Linked DNA regions of Homo sapiens: regions 2 and 3 are each linked to region 1. Evidence: promoter capture Hi-C in 16 types of primary human blood cells and fetal thymus (Javierre and others, 2016). All regions are on one chromosome and are shown on one strand. The core of a region is centred on a gene start or on the middle of the fragment in contact, and the rest is flanking DNA. Distances in the headings are between cores, read along the strand shown.

Region 1 (3,973 bases), core at 1,225-3,724:
TTATACGGAGTTCTGGGCAAAAATGGCCATATATAATAGGAAACTGAATAAGGAAGAGTTTCATCATCTTTTCTTGGGCCCATGGTCAACCCCAAGGAAACATTTGGAACACACCTATTTTTTTTCAATTCAGAAAAAAAATCTTATTTTTATTTGACAAATAAAAATTATATATACAGTATTTATGTTACACAATATGATGTTTTAAAAATTACTTATTTTTTAAATTGATGCATTATAATTGTACATATCTATGGAGTATAATTTGATGTTTTGATATAAGTGTATGCTGTATGATACAATTAGGTTAGTTAGTGTATCCATCACCTCATGCATTTATCATTACTTTGTGGTGAGAATCTTCAAAAGCCTCTCTTCTAGCTATTTTGTAAAATACAATATTTTCCTGTTAAATACAGTCATTCTACTGTGTAATAGAACACCGAAATTATTCCTTCTAATTGTATCGTTGTACCCGTTGACCAACCTCTCCCCATCCTCCTTTCCCCACTTACTCCCCCAGTCTCTGGTAAACCACTGTTATATTCTCTGCTTCTATATCAACTTTATTATTATCATTATTATTTTTTAGATTCCACATATCAGTGAGATCATGCAGTATTTGTTTTTCCGCATCTGATTTATTTCACTTAACATGGTGTCCTTCAGGTTCATTCACGTTATTGCAAATGACAGGATTACATTTCTTTTATGGCTGAATAGTATTCCATTGTGTATATATACCACATTTTCTTTATCCATTCATCCATCCATCTGTGGATACTTAGGTTGATTTCATATATGTTTTGATATACGCATGCATTGTGGAATGGCTAAATTGAGTGAATTAACATATATGCATTACCTCACATACTTGAAATTTTTTTTTGTAATGAGAACATTTACAATCTATGCTCTTTGTGATTTTTAAGCATACGATATATTGTTCTTAACTATCATCACCATGATGGACAATAGAGCTCTTCAACTTATTCCTCTTCTTTAACTGAAATGTTGTATCCTTTGGGTAACATCTCCCCATCTCGCTGCCCCTTGCCCACCCAGCCCCTGGCAACCACCATTCTACTCTTTCCTTCTATGAGTTCAAGTGTTTTAGATTCCACATGCAAGTGTGATCATGTGGTGTTTTTTACTCTCACTAATCTTCATTTTTGCTTCTTTCTCCTCTGGCCACCTTCACAAATGCTCAGTGTCCTCATGTGGTTCCGACCCTTTGCAGTGGCACCTTGCTTAGGTCTGTGCCATCTCAAAAAGTGGTCTAGGTTTTACAATTATTTACATCCCTACTTCCAGTTCTTCAACACTCCTGATCTTAACTAGTTGTGAGGAGAAAAATCTGATTATACAAATTTGCACTAATTCACATTCCTTCCCTCAGCAATAGGTATTTGCATTTTGATACTTGCATTTGCTTCCTTGCTCTGCGGGAGAATTTCCAGTCTAGTTTTAGGTGTATTTTTAAATAATTTGAAGGTAACGCGGAACCTCTATATTCCTATATTCCCTTCTTCAGACATCCATGTGTGTGTGTGTATATATGTATATATATAAAATGTTGCATATATATGTATATATATAGTATACACACATATATAATATATATACACACACATATATAGTTGTTATAGGATTATTTGGAAATATTATGTTGAGACTTGTGTGAAGTGTAGAATTAGGTAAAATTTTAAGATGAACTATATCCATGGTATTCTTTTATTTTAAAAAAAGTTTACATGTTAAGAAAAAAGGAGATCAGATTTTCAGCATTAGTATTTACAAACTTAAGTTGATATTGATTATAATTCAATTAATACAATTTTAAGATATATTTACTTCTGCCTTAATTGTTATGATCACTTAAAAATAGTTCCAAAAAGGGAAGAAAACAATAATTAGATTAGCCAAGACAGTTATTTTTGAAACATAAGTCTGGTTTAGAATTCAGCATGTTTAAAAATGAGATAAAATTATTTTAATAATGGAATGATCTGTTAGCTGTCATTACCATTTACTTTAAAGCAGAGGATATAGGACATGGGTCCTTTTTTTCTGATCACCTCCAATGAGATAAGAATCTATAAAGCTGGTAGGAAAATGAGTCCGTGACCAAAATGCTTACTCAGCCACTATAGGAGATCAAAACATTTTATACTAAATCTGAACTCTACTAAGACAAAACAATTGTGTTCTTTGAAAAATATGTAGGGTTTAGAAAATTTCTGGGATTTGTCTGTAAAATACCCTCCGGGCTCTAATAGTGACGTTTTAGGGAAACACTTGCATCTCAAGGTGGAAAGGATAGAGGTGGTGTTTTGTGGGCTCCTGTGGTGGTTAGGTCGTTCTCAGAAGACAGTACTGGAAATTAGATAATTGCTGATGTCATATTTTTCACAATTAAAAAAAAGTCAGTATCCTGGGGGCTATAAAAGCAGCAGCTTCTACCTTCCCCGTCACAAGCAGAATCTTCAGAACAGGTAAGCGTTTCGGCAAACTTGGTACAATTGGTTAGTTTGATGAAATACTTCTTGACTAATTTTGTTCCTTCACGTTGTCTTCGACCAGGTTCTCCTTCCCCAGTCACCAGTTGCTCGAGTTAGAATTGTCTGCAATGGCCGCCCTGCAGAAATCTGTGAGCTCTTTCCTTATGGGGACCCTGGCCACCAGCTGCCTCCTTCTCTTGGCCCTCTTGGTACAGGGAGGAGCAGCTGCGCCCATCAGCTCCCACTGCAGGCTTGACAAGTCCAACTTCCAGCAGCCCTATATCACCAACCGCACCTTCATGCTGGCTAAGGAGGTATACATCTCAATCCTGCTCTTTCTCGTTGGATCTACTTGGAATCCAAATAGTTCTTAAACTTTTCTTCAGAGCATCTCTAAGAGCTTTAGGAACCCACTGTTTATCCCTGAGGGTAGATAAATTTTCTGTTTTTTCAGAGACTCTTTGGGAATCTGGCTTTTTTTTTTTTCTTGAACTTCTTCCTTCCATTTTGGCCTTTATGATACATATGATGAATTTTTCCCAAAGAGCGGCCATTCAGTAATCCATCTGATGATTTTTTTTTTCCTTTATGCCTCTGTGCATTGTTCTAAACTCATGCACACATCTGAATTCTGCTTTTAGTCTTTATGATGTTGCTCTGGGGAGACGGGATGGGGCACATGTCTATGTATAAATTTTTTTTCTATTTGCTCAATGTCCAGACCCTTAGTCTTTTCTTCTCTTCCAGGCTAGCTTGGCTGATAACAACACAGACGTTCGTCTCATTGGGGAGAAACTGTTCCACGGAGTCAGTGTAAGCTACAGTTGTGACGAACAGGGCCGTGTGCCGTCCATGGGTACTTGGGGTGGTGGTGATGATGGTTTAGGTCTTATCCCTTATGACCCTTTCTGTTTCCCTTCCACCTGCAGATGAGTGAGCGCTGCTATCTGATGAAGCAGGTGCTGAACTTCACCCTTGAAGAAGTGCTGTTCCCTCAATCTGATAGGTTCCAGCCTTATATGCAGGAGGTGGTGCCCTTCCTGGCCAGGCTCAGCAACAGGCTAAGCACATGTGTAAGTTCAGCTCTCAGCCTATGCCCACCTACCCCTCCTTCCCTCCTTCCACAGAGACCCCCTTACCCCAACTCTCTCTCCTTCCCCCTACCCCTAAGCTAGCAGGAAGAAGTGTCTTGGCAGCAGTGTTATCAGGAGTCATTTGGGATCATAGAGTATTTGCTTTTGCTTTGACTGAGTCACATCTTGAGTTTATAGTGGTGAATGGGGTCTGGAACTTAAGTGTACAGAAGCCGCATTGGTTTGTCTTCGGAAAAAAGGCAACTCAGGTTGCGTAAGATGAGAAAGGTGTTGGGAAAAACATCTAGATGTGGAAATGGATCCATTGAGTCTAAGTTGTTGAGGGGAGGGGATGGCATGGAGAGAAATTAGAAGAGAAAGTGGGAAATGGGAAGGCTT
Region 2 (3,839 bases), core at 183-2,682, 530 kb before region 1:
TTTGCACTTTTTGGACCTTTGCATGATGGCACAAAAGCAATGGTAGGTAAAACTGTTGTTACCTTGGCATGAATCAAAGCCATGGCACCAGCTGTATTAGCAGTCATTGTTCATCACTATGTACTCAACAGTTTAAAAAGCCAGTTTTTCTTAAAATTCACTGAAGAACGTCCTTGAAGAAGCAGTCACAGTTATTAATTTTATTTAGTCTTGATCCTTGAGTGCACATCTTTTTAGTACTCTGTATGATACAATGGAAAGCACATATAAGCACTTCTGCACACCAAAGTATATACATTGGTTATCTCAAGAATAACCTTCCTAGAGATTGAATTCTGTGCTGCAGTACACTGCTTTTTTCATGGGACACCATTTTTTCTTGAAAGAACAACAGTAAACTATGGACAAGAGCATAGAACTAAAGACTTGGATATGAGAATTATCAGCTTAGAGATGATAAAGACAATGTCTAAACTGTGTGCAACACTGTTTTACCCACTGGGGACAGGTAAGTTTTTTGCTCTCACAGAGCTACGAAGAGAATAAAGAAAGCATAGAGGTCAGAATCATGGTTTGTTGAATATTTGAAGCTGAGGGGCTTCGAGGAGAAAGGTAGGAATGAAACAACTTTAGAAAACATAGTAATGAGGCCGGGTACGGTGATTCACTCCTATAATCCCAGCACTTTGGGAGGCCGAGGCAGGCAGATCGCCTGAGCTCAGGAGTTCAAGATGAGCCTAGGCAACATGGAGAAACCCCATCTCTACCAAAAAAAAATACAAAAAATTAACCTGGCATGGTGGCGCATGCCTGTGGTCCCAGCTACTTGGAAGGTTGAGGTGGCAGGATCACTTGAGCCTGGGAGGTAGAGATTGCAGTGAACCGAGATCATGCCACTGCATCCCATTTTGGGCAATGGAGTGAGACCCTGTCTCAAAAAAAGAAAGCAAGGCAAGGCAAGGCAAGACAGGGCAAGGCAGGGCAAGGCAGGGCAAGGCAGGGCAAGGCAAGGCAAGGCAAGGGAAGGCAACACATTAATGAAAGAAACATCTCTGTAGCACTGTATTGGTTTATTATTAGCAAAACAGAGTAGTCATGGGATCTCCAAGCTAAAATGTAGAAACAATCCTGTTATAATTGTAGCTATAAAGGTTTTATTCAGCAAACTGATTGTACTTATACAAACAAAGGATCTTGTTTTTTCCCTTTTTGAGAGAATCTTCAGCATGGGAACATTCAGAATAATTTGCCCAGTGCCAGTATGACAGATATTCCTAATTACAAATACTTTGCCAAATTTACAATGAGAATGATGATTAATTTGTGTCACATAGATTTTTTAAATTCATTCCCAAAGTGATTTAAGTTTATATTACAATCACAAATCTTATACTTTCAAAAATAATGCTCTCAATAAACTCATCCTGAATTTTTCTTCCCCAAAGACATCCACATCAGCCACAGCATAAACAAGACTTTCCCACTTTTCCCCTTACTGCTGTGAGTAGCATTCATTCAGTGTCAGCCCCAGGTCTGCCTCTGTTCCCTGTGAATCAACACTCTGTCTAAAAGGCAGGCGTTGGAGGAAACAGACCTCCTTGTCATAGACTGAAGGGCAGCAAACTACATTCCTTCAGCCTTAGGCCTGGTGGAGAAAATGCTTCAAATCACAAGAGAGGTAAGGCTCTCAGAAAAGCATGCAGACATTTTTAAAAATCTTGACTAAAAAGCGTGACTAGCTGGGCGCGGTGGCTCATGCCTATAATCCCAACACTGGGAGGCCGAGGCGGGCAGATCACCTGAGGTCAGGAGTTCGAGACCAGCCTGACCATCATGGAGAAGCCCTGTCTCTACTAAAAATACAAAATTAGCCGGGCATAGTGGTGCATGCCTATAATCCCAGCTACTTGGGTGGCTGAGGCAGGAGAATCGCTTGAACCCAGGAGGCGGAGGTTGCGGTGAGTCCAGATCATGCCATTGCACTCCAGCCTGGGCAACAAGAGTGAAACTCTGTCTCCAAAAAAAAAAAAAAAAAAAAAAGTGTGACTAGGCCAGGCAGGACGGCTCACGCCTGTAATCCCAGCACTTTGAGAGGCCAAGGTGGGCAGATCTCTTGAGCTCAAGGTTTCAAGACTAGACAGGGCAACATGGTGAAACCCCATCTCTACAAACAAAATATAAAAAAATTAGCCAGGTGTGGTGGTGCATGCCTGTAGTCCCAGCTACTTGGGAGGCTGAGGCGGGAGTATCACTTGAGGCTGGGAGGTCGAGGCTGCAGTGAGCCATGTTTGTGCCCCTGCACTCCAGCCTGGGTGACAAAGTAAGACCCTGTCTCAAAAAAATACAAAATAAATTAAAAAGTGTGATTTTAGAAATTGTTAAGATTTAAAAATAAAAATTTTGAGCAAATTTAAATAAAAATATAACTGGTTTGGGATAACCAGATATCCTGCATTTTAGAAATAATGTTAGAAACTGGGGCCAGAGAAGTGGCTTAAAATGTCCCTCTTCATCCCTCCCTCTATGCTTCACAGCATAACCCATATTTATCCACTTATTTTTAATTTAATTTAATTTTACTTTTAGAGTCAGGGTCTCACTTTGTTGCCCAGGCTGGAGTGCAGTGGCACAGTCATGGCTCACTATAACCTCAAACTCCTGGGCTCAGGCAATCCTCTGCCTCATCTTCCCAAGTAGCTGGGACTACAGGTGTCTACCACCATGCCCGGCTAATTTTATAAAATTTTTTATAGAGACGGGGGTCTTGCTGTGTTGCTCAGGTCTTGAACTCCTGGCCTCAAGTGCACCTCCTGCCTTGGCCTCCCAAAACACTGGGATTACAGATGCAGGCCACTGTACCTGGCCCCCATATTTATTAATCACATTTTATTCATTCATTCATTTAACTTTCCTGTGAAGTTTTGCAAATGGCTTCCTCAATTCCCCCTTGTTAAGCTTTTTTTCCTTCTCAAACCATGCTTATATCCTTTCTGGTTCCAGCCACATATTTTGGGTCAGACAGTCCTAGCACTGTACTTTTAATATCACCTGGAGTGACTTCAGAGACTTCTTTGAAGCCACAAGACCATCTGGTTCAATACCAATATTTTGAAATCTAATGACTCACTATTCTAGAACATTCTCAACATTAAGTTTCTTAAAGATGGCTTAAATACTTTTTAAATTTAAATAAATGTACAGAAAACAAAAATCTTTTCATTTAAAACCTACCAAATATAGCCACACATGGTAGGGCATACCTATAGTCCCAGTTACTCAGGAGGCTGAGGCAGGAGGATTACTTGAGCCAAGGAGTTCAGGGCTGCAGTGCACTATGATTGTGCCTGCAAAAAGGCACTGCACTCCAGCGTCGGCCACAGAGAAAGACCTAGTTTTTTGTTTTTGTTTTTGTTTTTGAGACAGAGTCTTGTTCTGTCGCCCAGGCTGGAATGCAGTCTGGAGTGCAGTGGCTCATTGCAACCTCCACCTCCTGGGTTCAAGCAATTCTCCTGCCTCAGCCTCCTGAGTAGCTGGGATTACAGGGGCACACCACCACGCCCAACTAACTTTTGTATTTTTAGTAGAGATGGAGTTTCGCCATGTTGGCCAGGTTGGTCTCAAACTCCTGGGCTCAAGTGATTCACCTACCTTGGCCTCCCAAAGTGCTGGGATTACAGGCGTGAGCCACTGCATCCAGCCATAAGACTCAGTTTCTTTTCTTTTTTTTTTTTGGAGATGGAGTTTTGCTCTTTTGTCCAGGCTGGAGTGAAGTGGTGCGACCATGGTTCACTGCAACCTCTACCCTCCCGGTTCAAGCAATTCTCCTGCCTCAGCCTCCC
Region 3 (3,926 bases), core at 595-3,094, 900 kb after region 1:
AACATAGCTATTAAAAAACTTTAAATTGGCCAGGTGCAGTGGCTCATGCCTGTAATCTCAACACTTCAGAGGCCAATACTGGAGGATCACTTGAGGCCAGAAGTTCAAGACCAGCCTGGGCAACATAGTAAAATCCCATCGCTATAAAAAAAATTTTGAAAAATAGCAAGGCATGGTGGTGCACACCTGTAGTCTTGGCTCCTCAGGAGGCTGAGCTGAGAGGACTGTTTGAGCCCAGAAATTTGAGATTTCAGTAAGCCATGATTATACCATTGCACCCCTGGGTAACAAAATGAGACCCCATACTCTAGGGAAAAAAAACCTTTAAATTACACATGTGTATGCATCTTATTTCTATTAGCCAGCTGCCAGCTTCATGAGACCTAGGACAATTGCTGGTTATTAAGTATTGTACACATGGCTGGTAGCTAGTGGATTGGCCCTGGGGTGGCCATACCAATTGTTTACTGATGTTATTGGTTTTGGCCCTGACATCATGAGTGGTTAAATATTTTTTCTATCACCTGATTGCATTGCCATTAGCTACCACAGTGCCCACATATAGCAATAGATGGATGGATGGATGGATGAAAACACAAATGATACTTTTTCAGTATCTAAAATTTCCATGCAACTCTGACACGACAGATGATTGCATAAATCTGTCACACTATCCAAATTTTCATTCCCTGCCCTATGATCCAAAAGCCTAAACTAGAGTGATCACATTAATGTCAAAGAACAAGAAGTAAAAAAAGCCTCCTGCCCCATCTCTTGCGGGGGAGACTGAATTTCCACTTTCAAATGTAGAATCATATGAGTAACAAGATATACAAGCACAATTCATGTGAGTTTTTCTGTCTCCATTCCCAGCCTAAGCTACCGTGACAAGGCCAACTTCACACAGGGCTGAGCAACAGCTGTTTATACCGAATGACTGTAGAGCCCCAAGAGACACTTCTACCACTAAAATGCCTTTCTTTTCTTCCTTGGAGAGCTCTTCCCTGTTGACTGTAGGGGGTTGAACTGCATAACCACAAAAATTCATGTGTTAAAAGTCCTAATCCCCATTACTTCAGAATGTAAACTTGTTTGGTAATAGGGTTGTTGCAGATCTAATTAGATGAGGTCTTCCTGAAGTAGTGTGGGCCTCTAGTCCAGCAGGACTGGAGTCCTTATAAAAAGAGGAAATTTGAAGTCAGACATGCACACAAGGAGAAGACAATGTGAAGATGAAAGCAGAGGTTGGGGTGATGCAGCAAAAACCACGGAACGCCAGAGGCTGCCAGCAAACCCCCAGATGCTGGGAGGGAGGCATAGAACAGATTCTTCCTCACAGACCTCAGAAGGAACTAATCCTGCCAAAATCTTGATCTCAGATGTCTACTCTTCACAGCTGTGAGACAATAAATTTCTGATGTTAAAGTCACCCAGCTTGTGGCACTTTGTTACAGCAGCCCTAGAAAATTAATACACTTTCTTGATCTAAATCAGACTCCTAGTTCTTCCTCATACCACCTCCTTTGTGGTACTTACCAAATTTGTAAATATTTTTCCCTGTGTGTCTGTCTGTGTAATGTCTATGTCTCCATTTTTCTCCAAGCTCAATGCGACACCAGTGTCTGTTTTGTCCACCACTGTCCACCCAACATTTAGAAATGAAGAGTCCCTTCATAAGCACTTTTTGATGAATACCTGGGCTGTCCGGCCATTGGAAGCAGAAATGCAACTGTTAAAGGACCACAGGCAGCGCTCCTCAGAAAGAAAAGCCAGAATGCAGGATGGTGCACACTGACAGGCTGTCTCAGCAGCCCTCTTTCAACAAGGTAAAAGATGAAGGTGGCCGGGCACGGTGGCTCATGCCTGTAATCCCAGCACTTTGGGAGGCCGAGGCGGGCTGATCACAAGGTCAGGAGATCAAGACCATCCTGGCTAACACGGTGAAACCCCTTTCTTACTAAAAATACAAAAATTAGCCAGGCGTGGTGGCGAGCACCTGTAGTCCCAGCTACTTGGGAAGCTGAGGCAGAAGAATGACCTGAACCCTGGAGGCAGAGCTTGCAGTGAGCCAAGATCGTGCCATTGCACTCCAGCCTAGGCAACAGAGCGAGACTCTGTCTCAAAAATAACAAAGGGTGAAGGTTAGCGCTGACCTCTTTGGCACAGGCTAGTCTATTCAGTTATCTAACTGGATCAGGCAGAGATCAGGAGCCTGAAGTAAGTTCTAGAAATAGAACCCCATTCCCCTGGAGACGGCAGACCTAAAGGAAGCATCACAGCGTGCATGTATTGTTGAAGAGGCAGGAGGAGTGTTCCTCTAGAATGGCAGCAACAAGCAAGCACAAGGAACCAAGCCCTTGGCAGTGGAAGGAAACCAGCTGAAGCAAGACAAGCAGAAATGATCACAGTAGCTACCACTTATTGAGTCTCAAGTGAGTGCCATGCTGAATGCTTTTCTTACATTATTTCATTAAATCCCCATAACAGACTCACCAATAAGTACTATTATTACCATTTTACATGAAAAAACTGAAGTTGAGAGAGGTTAAGCAATTTGCTCACGGGCACACTGTTAATGAATCATAAGCTAGAATTTAAAGCCAGAGATCTGCTGTTTTGATACTTTCCTAGCTTTGCAGCCTTGCATAGAACTGGCCTTGATGACTTTCTTTCATGCTGTGATTACCAAAATCTGAAAAACCTACATGTTTTAGAAAGCATTACTTACCAATAATTGCTTACTGTCTATCTCCACCTATTAGAAAGCAAACGTCTTGAGATAGCAAATGCATACTCAAACTTATTAGGATTTCGATCCAGTGAACAGTAGGAGCTCAAAAATATTTGTATTAGGAATGAATCAAATAAGCACTTATTGACCACCTAGATGTACTTTAGAAGACATTAATGTTAAAAAAAAACTTCATATTAGAAAAAGAACCCTTACAAAACTACTGCACTAGAATGAAGCATTTATCTTTTCCACTTTTCAATTGCGAAGTACTGCAATATAGTTAAAGTTTCTGTGAATAAAAAACTATTCTGTGCTGCCCTATAGAAAGTTCCCACCCTTAGTTTTACAAACTTCCCTTCTCTGTATATTCATTTTCTTCTTCTAGCTGCTTGTGCTCAACTCTCCATTGGATTCTCTTTTGCATACCTATCCCAGTTTTGCTTGCTAAACCAGGAACTTTTTGTTTTAAGAAAATATTCAGGGGCCCAGGGGAGGGATAGCATTAAGAGAAATACCTAATGTAAATGATGAGTTTATGGGTGCAACAAACCAACATGGCACATGTAAACCTATGTAACAAACCAGCACGTTGTGCACATGTACCCCAGAACTTAAAGTATAATTTTTTAAAAAGGAAAATATTAAAGGTAATCAAACAGCAGATATTTTCAAATTAGATAACTCTAAAAGATAGCTAAACCTATTAAGATTAGGCAGCTGTTGATGATAAACCTCAGAATAACTTTCTCTCTCCCCTAATACAGAAATCAGAAATCAACTGGCAGGTGCACAAGCAAGATACCAAATTCCCGTTTCCCAGCCAAGCTCCTGTGGTGAAATTGTTCCTTGGCAAATGTCCCTTTTTTTTTTTTTTTTTTTTTTTAACTTTGCCTTAAGAGGAGGAAAAGCTGCCAAATGCCAACTTGGAGAATAGTGTACAAAATGCTAAATATAAAGAGTTGAGGAATATCAGGGGCTATTTTAAAAATTAGTCTCTAATAGAGCCTGTAGTATCCTCATATGTCTAGGAAACAGCATGGCAGTCATGTTGGTTTACACCAAAAGCAATAATTCTAGGTTCAAAAGCCCAATCTACAACAGCGCTAGTAAATCTCAGTATCTTTCAACTGAAGGCCAACCTATTTAACATTTCCTGCACTCAACAGCACAAACTCAGAAAATGAGAAGCTAA

The links. Contacts are between HindIII fragments. The CHiCAGO score rates a contact against its expected background, and 5 or more counts as called.
Region 2: a fragment that was not itself captured here is called in contact with the fragment with the promoter of IL22 in region 1 in 1 of 17 cell types (megakaryocytes); the score reaches 6.1 in megakaryocytes.
Region 3: a fragment that was not itself captured here is called in contact with the fragment with the promoter of IL22 in region 1 in 1 of 17 cell types (naive CD8 T cells); the score reaches 6.1 in naive CD8 T cells.

Annotation. Positions count from the first base shown.
Region 1 is chr12:68,252,105-68,256,077 of GRCh38, reverse strand. IL22 (interleukin 22) reads left to right here and starts at 2,474. Exons shown (of 6, transcript NM_020525.5): 1 at 2,474-2,495; 2 at 2,584-2,815; 3 at 3,249-3,314; 4 at 3,431-3,574. The coding sequence starts at 2,630. The HindIII fragment of the contact is 7,204 bases long and covers 1-3,973 here.
Region 2 is chr12:68,778,683-68,782,521 of GRCh38, reverse strand. SLC35E3 (solute carrier family 35 member E3) reads right to left here. Exons shown (of 5, transcript NM_018656.5): 5 at 1,054-3,839. Among named protein-coding and RNA genes, the nearest start is that of MDM2, 28 kb to the left of the region's middle. The HindIII fragment of the contact is 3,050 bases long and covers 1-2,957 here.
Region 3 is chr12:67,356,237-67,360,162 of GRCh38, reverse strand. No RefSeq gene overlaps it. Among named protein-coding and RNA genes, the nearest start is that of LINC02420, 84 kb to the left of the region's middle. The HindIII fragment of the contact is 7,279 bases long and covers 1-3,926 here.